Regions from separate parts of the Homo sapiens genome. Here all the other regions are linked to region 2. The links are contacts of gene promoters, found by promoter capture Hi-C in human tissues and cell types (Jung and others, 2019). All regions are on one chromosome and are shown on one strand. The core of a region is centred on a gene start or on the middle of the fragment in contact, and the rest is flanking DNA. Distances in the headings are between cores, read along the strand shown. Region 1 overlaps CYP11A1 (cytochrome P450 family 11 subfamily A member 1). Region 2 holds the start of ARID3B (AT-rich interaction domain 3B). Region 3 has its middle 14 kb from the start of MIR6881.

The links. The method cuts DNA at HindIII sites, captures the fragments that hold promoters and counts their contacts. A contact is called where the count stands out against the background at its distance.
Region 1: a fragment that was not itself captured here is called in contact with the fragment with the promoter of ARID3B in region 2 in 1 of the 25 tissues and cell types used here (mesendoderm cells).
Region 3: a fragment that was not itself captured here is called in contact with the fragment with the promoter of ARID3B in region 2 in 2 of the 25 tissues and cell types used here (dorsolateral prefrontal cortex and lymphoblastoid cells).

What each region holds. Positions count from the first base shown.
Region 1 is chr15:74,354,316-74,357,041 of GRCh38, reverse strand. The region is part of intron 1 of CYP11A1 (cytochrome P450 family 11 subfamily A member 1); the gene reads left to right. Among named protein-coding and RNA genes, the nearest start is that of CYP11A1, 12 kb to the left of the region's middle. The HindIII fragment of the contact is 4,859 bases long and covers 1-2,726 here.
Region 2 is chr15:74,539,781-74,542,480 of GRCh38, reverse strand. It overlaps ARID3B (AT-rich interaction domain 3B), which reads right to left and starts at 1,261. Exons shown (of 9, transcript NM_006465.4): 1 at 1,151-1,261. LOC124903528 (a long non-coding RNA gene) reads left to right here and starts at 1,393. Exons shown (of 2, transcript XR_007064719.1): 1 at 1,393-1,583. RefSeq lists enhancers at 266-325, 1,676-1,825, 1,400-1,941, 1,876-2,005 and silencers at 315-499, 1,016-1,375. The HindIII fragment of the contact is 13,134 bases long and covers 1-2,700 here.
Region 3 is chr15:74,395,802-74,398,713 of GRCh38, reverse strand. No RefSeq gene overlaps it. Among named protein-coding and RNA genes, the nearest start is that of MIR6881, 14 kb to the left of the region's middle. RefSeq lists enhancers at 914-963, 984-1,403, 993-1,626, 1,644-1,843, 1,013-2,212 and 3 more. The HindIII fragment of the contact is 6,100 bases long and covers 1-2,912 here.

The sequences.
Region 1 (2,726 bases), core at 143-2,642, 190 kb after region 2:
GTCTGGTTTTTGAACAGGTAAAATGGGGGAATTATAAGGAGAGATTATAGGCTTTAAAAGGCCATGCTGTAACAGGCAAGTGATAACAGGCTTTAATCTTTTTAAAGCATGCTGTGGGATAGGATATTAGCATTGAACAGGGTAAGGGTGATTAGGTTTTAATGGGATGGTAAGGGGTGCATGATCAGTCACCAAGGAGGGAGTAGACATGTCCCATATGTGTGGATTAAGGTGGGGAGATACAAGGGGAGGATGTGAAGGAGGCTTTAAACTGGGGAAAAGGGTGGCAATAAGGTGTGGCTGTAGCCCAGGAATAGTCAGGGAAGCAGATAATTTAGTTAAAATGTCTTGACCTAATAAGGGAACTGGGCAGGTGGGGATAACTAAAAAGGAGTGCATAAAAGAATATTGTCCAAGTTGGCACCAGAGTTGGGAAGTTTTAAGAGGTTTAGAAGCCTGGCTGTCAATACCCACAATAGTTGTGGAGGCAAAGGAAATAGGCCCTTGAAAAGAAGGTAATGTGGAGTTGGTAGCCTCCATATTGATTAAGAAGGGGACGGACTTACCCTCCACTGTAAGAGTTACCTAAAGCATCTGTGATGATCCAGGAAGCTTCTGAGGCGATTGGGCAGCATCAGTCTTCAGCCGCTAAGCGGAGAAGATCTGGGAAGGAGTCAGTCAGATAGCCTTGGGCCAGAGTTCCAGGGGCTCTGGGAGTGGCTGCTGGGTGAGTTGGACAGTCCAGTTTCCAGTGGGGTCCTGCACAGATGGGACATGGCTTAGGAGGAATCCCAGGCTGCAGGCAATACTTGGCCCAGTGGCCAGATTTCCAGCACTTGAAGCAAGATCCTGGGGCAGGTGGTCCTGGAGGAATGCCTGGCCGCTGCAGTTCAGGCGTTTTGAAGTTCTTGTATGCTGGAGATGCGGCTGGGTTTTGTCTCACAGCAGAGGCAAGTAATTGTAACTCAGAAATGTGTTGCTGTCTGGCTGCCTCCTTTCTATTATTGTACACCTTGAAGGCAAGGTTGATTAATTCCCATTGCGAGGTTTGAGGGCCGGATTCTAATTTTTGAAGCTTTTTTCTAATGTCAGGGGCTGACTGGGTGATAAAATGCATATTGAGAATAAGACAGCCTTCTGACCCTTCAGGGTCTAGGGCTGTAAAGCGTCTCAGGGTTGCTGCCAAATGAGCCATGAACTGGGCTGGGTTTTTATATTTGAGGAAAAAGAGCCTAAACACTAACTGATTTGGGAGAGTTCGGATAAAGAAAAAGGAGCATTAACCTTGACTATGCCTTTAGCTCCAGCCACCTTTTTAAGAGGAAATTACTGGGCAGATGGGGGAGGGCTAGTTGCAGAACGAAACTGTAAGCTGGACTGGGTTTGGGGAGAGGGGGTGATAGAAGGATTATAGGGTGGAGGAGCAGAAACTGAGGAAGAATTGGAGCCTGATTCAGCCTGGCTGGGGAGTGACCTGAGGAGCAGTCTGGGGATGAGGGGAGAGGTCAGATGGGTCGGTAGAAAAGGAAGATTGGAAAGACTCAACAACACTTGGGGTTGGGACTGAAGGGACAGGTGGGAGGGAAAAGAAGATTTGGGACCAATTGCATTGGAAATAGACTAGGGAGGGAACAAAGAATGCCTGGGTGTCAGGTACCTCAGACCATTTGCCCATTTTATGACAAGAATTATCTAGATCTTGTAGGATGGAGAAATCGAAAGTGCCGTTTTCTGGCTATTTGGAACCATTGTTGAGTTTGTATTGGGGTTAAGTGGCATTGCAGAAGAAAATAAGATGTTTAGGTTTTAGGTCACGTGTGAGTTGAAGAGGTTTTAAATTCTTGAGAACACAGGCTAAGGGAGAAGAGGGAGGAATGGAGGGGTGGAAGTTTGCCCATAGTGAAGGAGGTAAGCCCAGAGAAAAGAGAGGATAGAGACATGGAGAGAAGGTGTGGGGGATGCCTGCCCCCCAGGAAAGTGGAGAGAAAAGGGAGGGTAGAGACACGGAGAGAAGGGAGGTGCTTGCCCCCCAAATTAGTGGTGCTTGCCACTAAGGGTGAAGGATCAAGGCAGGTGTCCCCGTGGTGATCAAACACCTCTGAAATGTGGGTGAATAATCAAGCAGGCATCCCCGCAGTGATTAAACACCAAGGGAAGACTGTCTTCCCGAGTCTGTGACCAGCGCTGGAGTTTTGGGTTCACGGATAAAACACGTCTCCTCTGTCTCTGCCAGAAAAGGAAAGGAACTGAAATTAAGGGAAGGGAGAGATTGAAAGATGGCGCCAAGATTGAAAGGAGAAAGAGGTTGAGAGATAGTGAGAGAGGTTGGAGAAGAGAGTAAAAAGAGGCTGCTTACCGGGTTTAAAATTGGTGGGATGTTCCTTGGGCTGGTTGGTCTGAGGACCTGAGGTCATAGGTGGATCTTTCTCACTGAGCAAAGAGCAGGAGGACAGGGGATTGATCTCCCAAGGGAGGTCCCCTGATCCGAGTCATGGCACCAAATTTCATGCGTGTCCCTGTGAAGAGACCACCAAACAGGCTTTGTGTGAGCAATAAAGCTTTTTAATCACCTGGGTGCAGGCAGGCTGAATCCGAAAAGAGTCAGCAAAAGGAGATAGGGGTGGGGCTGTTTTATAGGATTTGGGTAGGTAATGGAAAATTACAGTCAAAGGGGGTTGTTTTTTGGCTGGCAGGGGTGGGGGTCACAAGGTGCTCAGTGGGGGAGC
Region 2 (2,700 bases), core at 12-2,511:
AAATTCTCATTTTCTGTTTATCTTATAGCCCTGTTTGTGCCTTTTGTGTTCTGTGAAAGATTCGCATTCCAATTTGCCTCTTACTGCCTTTACTTCCTCTCTTGGCACTTCAGAAAGTGTGAGTTACGCTTGCAGCAATACTTTCATTCTGCTTTAGCTCTTCTTACAGTGTAAAAAAGCATGACAAGATTTACATCCACATTAAATTCAGTTGGCAAAAGTGTTCATTTAAAATGAAAACAATTTGGGTCAAAGAAAATTACAGAATAAAGCAAATAATTCGGTGTTCATTTTAAATGTCCTCATAGTCATTACAGTCAATCAATCACGATCGGAATAACTTCTCAACCAAGTCCTGCCAGTCACTGAACAACTGCTTCTTGTCTTGTGGCACCATCTTCTCTGAATGCTGTCCCCAGCAGAGGGGGAGGTGTCCCTCCCACAGCCTCTTATAGTAAGACTGAGATGACTCAGTTCTACAACTCAATACACACACCCTCCCCCAAAGAGCCCATTTTCCCGCAGTCCCTAAGCAGCCAGCGATCCAAACAATGCCACCTGCCTACATTTGGAGAACTTATGTCTCAAATCTAAACCTCTTCATCCCTTCACACGGGCCCCTCCCCCATTTCCCCTAAAGTTCCCGGACCACCAAGCCGGGTACAACGGACTACCTGCAGCTTTGAACCCGGCCTGCTGACCATTCCCCTGCTTTTGCTGCCGGATTCTTTTGGCCCCGGGCCCCTGTAAGCCCCACAGCCCACCTTCCCGGTCACCCCTGCACGCCTCCCCCCATTCTTTATTCACCTCCCCCCATTCAGCCCTATCATTTTTACCTCTACCAACCCTCCCAGCCAATCCGCTGGCTCTTCCGATGGCCCCCGCCCCACCTATCTGCGCGCCCACTCAGCTCCAGGGCCCCTCACCCTTCTCATCGCTTTATCTCAAACGCTTTATCTCAAATGCCCTAATGGGCACAGGGCGCTCGGGGCTCCCGCGGCGCTCTCACTTTCCTTCGCGGTCCCCGCGCCCCCGACTCGCGCATTCCCCTCTCTCTCTACACCTGCCTCGGCTCCTGGCCTCGGCCCCTCCACCTGTCGCAGCCTCCTCTCCCGCCATGCCTGAGGGAGCCCGGACCCGGGCCACTTACCTGTGCGGGGCACTCCGGGTTTTCGGGCGGCGGAGGAGGCGGCAGCTCAGGCCCCGGCGCGGCAGCTGCGTCTCGGACTCCTCCGCAGCCGGGGGCCACAGCCGGGGCGGGGCCCGCACCGGAAGCGGCGCCGCGGGGCTGGACCGCCAGCCAGGGGCGGGGGCGGGGGCGGGGCGGGGCCACAGGGGGCGGGGCGGGACCGAAGCCGGAAGCTGCTAGAAAGGGACCGGGGGGCGGGGTGGGACGAGGCGGAAGTGACTCCTACGGACCGCGCAGCCCGACTGAGTTGTGGGAGGAAGCGAATGGAAGCGGGCGGAAGCCTCGGCCAATGGCAAAGTGCGGACACAGAGGGGTTCCGGTGTGAGCACTTCCGCGGGGAGTTGAAAAGAGCTGGGCGGGAGATCGTGTTCTCCGAGCGTTTTCTATTGCGGAGGTTGGTGTGGCTTGGGCGGTTGGCTGGGAGGAAAGTAACTAAAGAGCAGAGGAGTGTAGGGTTTGCCGTCGCTTCGGTCCCCTCCTCAATCTCCTGCCTTCAAGCCGGTCTTCCTCAGAGGTTCTCGTGTTTAGATCAGCTTGTCTCTAAACTTCTCCGCTCCTTCCTGGGACAGAGACCTGGCTGTCCCGAGAATGTTGCGTCCCTTGAAACTTTCTCACATGAATTAGTATTCTCAGGTCTCAGTTTGCAGAGGTCGGGATTATGTGCCAGGTGCTGTCACCTCTTGTAAAAACACTTGCTTCTTCAGCCCTTCCCCTTAGACTCTGTCACCTACTTCACCCCGTTTGGAGATAATCTGCCGATCTGTGTATCCAGCTCCTTGTCTGTCTCCCGTCTGACCATCTTTGATAATTTCAGAGCCTATGTGGCCAACCCATTCAACATCGGGCCTCGTCTTTAGCGACCCTTATATCAGCCTCCCAATCCCAGTTAAAACCTGGACCTTGTCCCTCCAAACGCTATCGCGTCACGACTCAGTAATTTGAACAACCCTCTTTTCAACCACAGCCTGCTATTCTCTCAGCTTGACTACTTTTGAATTATAGGCCTGATGCAGTAGCTCACGCCTGTAATTTCAGCACTTTGGAAGGCTGAGGCAGGCGAATCTCTTGGGCCCAGTAGTTGGAGAGCAGCCTGGGCAACAAGGCGATACCCCATCTCTACAAAAAATACAAAGTTTAATGAGGCGTTTTGGCGCATGCCTGTGGTCCCATCTACTCGGAAGGCTGAGGTGGGAGATCACCTGAGCCCAGGAGAGGCGGAGGTTGCAGTGAGCCATGATTGTGCCACTGCACTCCAGCCTGGGTGACAGAGACACTGTTCCCCCCCCCCAAAAAAAATAGAATTACAGCATAACTGTTATTACTGTTATTTCACTTTTTTTTTTTAGAAGGAGTCTTGCTCTGTCGCCCAGGCTGGAGTGCAGTGGCGCAACCTCAGCTCACTGCAACCTCCGCCTCCTGGGTTCAAGCAATTCTACTGCCTCAGCCTCTCGAGTAGCTAGGATTACAGGTGTGCGCCACCAAGCCAGCTAATTTTTGCATTTTTAGTAGAG
Region 3 (2,912 bases), core at 291-2,790, 140 kb after region 2:
TTTGGGCAACTGACAAACTGCTTTCCACAGAGGTGATACCATTTTACATCCCCGCCATCAGAGTGTGAGGGCTCTAATCTTGCCACAGTCTCACCAACACTTGTTATTTTCTCTGCCTTTATTCTTTCAACACACACACACACACACACACACACACACACAGAGAGAGAGAGAGAGAGAGACATTGAGACAGGGTCTTGCTCTGTCACCCAGGCTGGAATACAGTGGTGCAATTTTGGCTCACTGCAATCTCCGTCTCCTGGTCTCAAGCAATCCTCCCACATCAGCCTCCCGCGCAGCTGGGACTGCAGGTGCATGCCACCACACCCAGATAATTTTGTGTATCTTTTGTGGAGATGAGGTTTCACCACATTACCGAGGCTGGTCTCGAACTCCTGAACTCAAGAGATCTGTTGGCCTTGGCCTCCCAAAGTGCTGAGATTTCAGACATGAGTCACTGTGCCTGGCCTTCAACACATATTTTGTTGAGCCCCTGCTTGGTGTCAGGCCTGTGCTGGGGTAGGGGATGCAGGGGTCCAGGCTGCTCTTGCAGAGCCAAAGGGACATAGATGTGACCCAGTGGTGGCTGGTGCTGAGTGGAGGGAAGGAGGAGGTGAAGTGATGGGAGTGACCTGCATGGACAGTCAGGGCAGGCTTCAGGGAGGCAGCGTTTGTGCCCTGGGAAGGTCTTGGCTGTTACTGTCCAATCCCAGCCTCTGTCCCTTCCCAAGTCCCCAGGATGAGTGGTAGTCAAGGTGCTGGGTGCCTCAGTGTTATAATGTGAAAAGTCTCAGCCTGGCCTGAAACTCACCCATTAGAGCCCTCACCTGCAGATTCTATGCCCACAGCCCAGGCCAGATGAGGAAACTGTGGCTCAGAGAAGGGAATGACTTCCCAAAGGTCATCCCAAAAGGTAGTGGCAGAGGGAGACCAGATCCCTGATCTACAGATGCCCAGCCTGGGGTCCTTTTAGCTCTGATGGGGTGAGGCCTGGGGCAGCATGAGGCTGGGAGCAGGGAAGATGGGGGAGGGCAGGAGGCTGAGAGAGCCCAGGTGAGAGAGGGCCAAGCTTGAAAGGTTTTCCCAGGCTGGGGGAGAGGCCCTGGTCAGGATGTGTATGGGTAAGGGGTGAGATACAGAGGTCCCTGGGGCGGGCCCAGACCTGTTTCTCCTTTGCCCAGTTTCAGTTCTGTTTTGCTTGTCCCCTTCTGTTTTGCGTTCAGAGTGGGTTGGGGTGGTGGTGGGGTGACTCTTAGCCCCCATCTTGATCCCCATGGTGGGGGATGAGGAGATGGGCTTAACTCCAGACACCACTTTCAGTCCCCCTTTCTACCCCCACCCAGGGTCCCCCAGTCTAAGGGCGGATGCGGGAGGCCTGGCTGGGTCCGTCCTCACAAGGAGGGGCAAGCTGGGCAGAGCCTGGCTGGCCTCCCCTGCTGCCATACCTTGGAGCCCACAGCCTCCAGTGGGTAGTGACTGGCCCCAAATCTAGACATAGGTAATGTTTGCTTAGTGAGCTCATGTGCTATGGGACTAAGTTGAAATGCTCTGCCCCTTACTCATACACCCTTATTGACTCACAGGTCCCCAAGGTGAGTCACGCCCACATCAGGTATTGTGGGTGTATGAGACATACACCCACTGCAAACTGGGATGCAGTTTCCAGTCCCCCTGCCAGCATGCTTAGGGCACCAGGAAGGGCAGTGGGTGCTGATGGGCCCCAGATTTACCAAAGATGACTCCAGTTGGAGGCCTTGGACTGCTGTGGGCTTGTCAGGGGCCTTTGTGGCCCTGGGAGGAGGTGTCTGGGGCTGCTCCAATGTCTTTGGGGTCTCTCAGGTTGGGGTGGATCCTTTGGGAGTGCTGGGCACTGGCAGAGACTCAGGCCGCAGGGAGGGGACTTGCTTTCCCTCTGGCTCCCTCAGGAGGCCTCAGCTGCAGTGCTGGGTGCTGGCTGTCCTCAAACCCATGTCCTCCAGCCCCCTGACGTCTTCTCATTTCCTCATCTCAGGTTTCAGCCCACTCAGGCTGACGTTGCCTTCTGATCTCGTTTTTCAGCAGCCCCCAGGTCTCCGTGGCTGCTGTGCAGAAACGCGAGTGGTTGGGGGAAGTCCACATGATGCTGGCCTTGAAGAGCCTCCTGCCAGCCAGGCCTCAGGAGGGCTCACTTCCCCATTGCAGAACTCCTGCGGAGACCCAGGGGCAATTTCTGGTCTTTAGCACAGGGCCTCTGAGGGGCTGGCTTTTCCTAGGGGCTGCCCTGGTGCTGTGGCACCGTGGGGTGGGGGATTTCGGCAACGCCAGGGGCTCGACATGGCTGAAACTTCTTTGGACAGCTCAGCTACCCCAGGTAGAAGCCTCTGTCCCTCCCGGAGCCAGGCCTGTCCCAGCTTCGAAGTCAGATGTTGGGACATGCTGTATGCCTTTGGGACGAGTAGCCCCGTGGGCTCAGAGCTCTGACAGTGAACCCAGATGGGGTTGCTGTGAGGCACTGGGCGGGTCTAAACAAACAAGGTGCTGTGTGAGTGCATAGGTGCGAACAGGCTGCTCCAAGGGACTCTTGAATTGTCTTTGCGGACAAGTGGGAGTTAGCTGGAAAAGAAGGAGCTGCGTGGTCAGAGGCGTGGAGGCAGGCAGTGGAATAACCCATGTGGAGAACTGCAAGCATTTCCACATGACTGACTGGAGTGTGAGGGGGTGTAGGAGACCGGAGGGCAGGCGGTGGGCAGGGGGCTGGAGAAGGACCCTGAGGGCTCAGCCAAGGAGCAGGACTTTTCCTGAAGCAGCAGAGGCAGAGAGCCAGGCCCCTCCTGAGCCCTCTCACTTCTGTGCAGGGACACCTCCCAGTGAAGTAGGCCTGGGCCTCAGAGGCACCCCGACCCTGGCTGCTGACTCAGCTCTGCCTCTGTGAG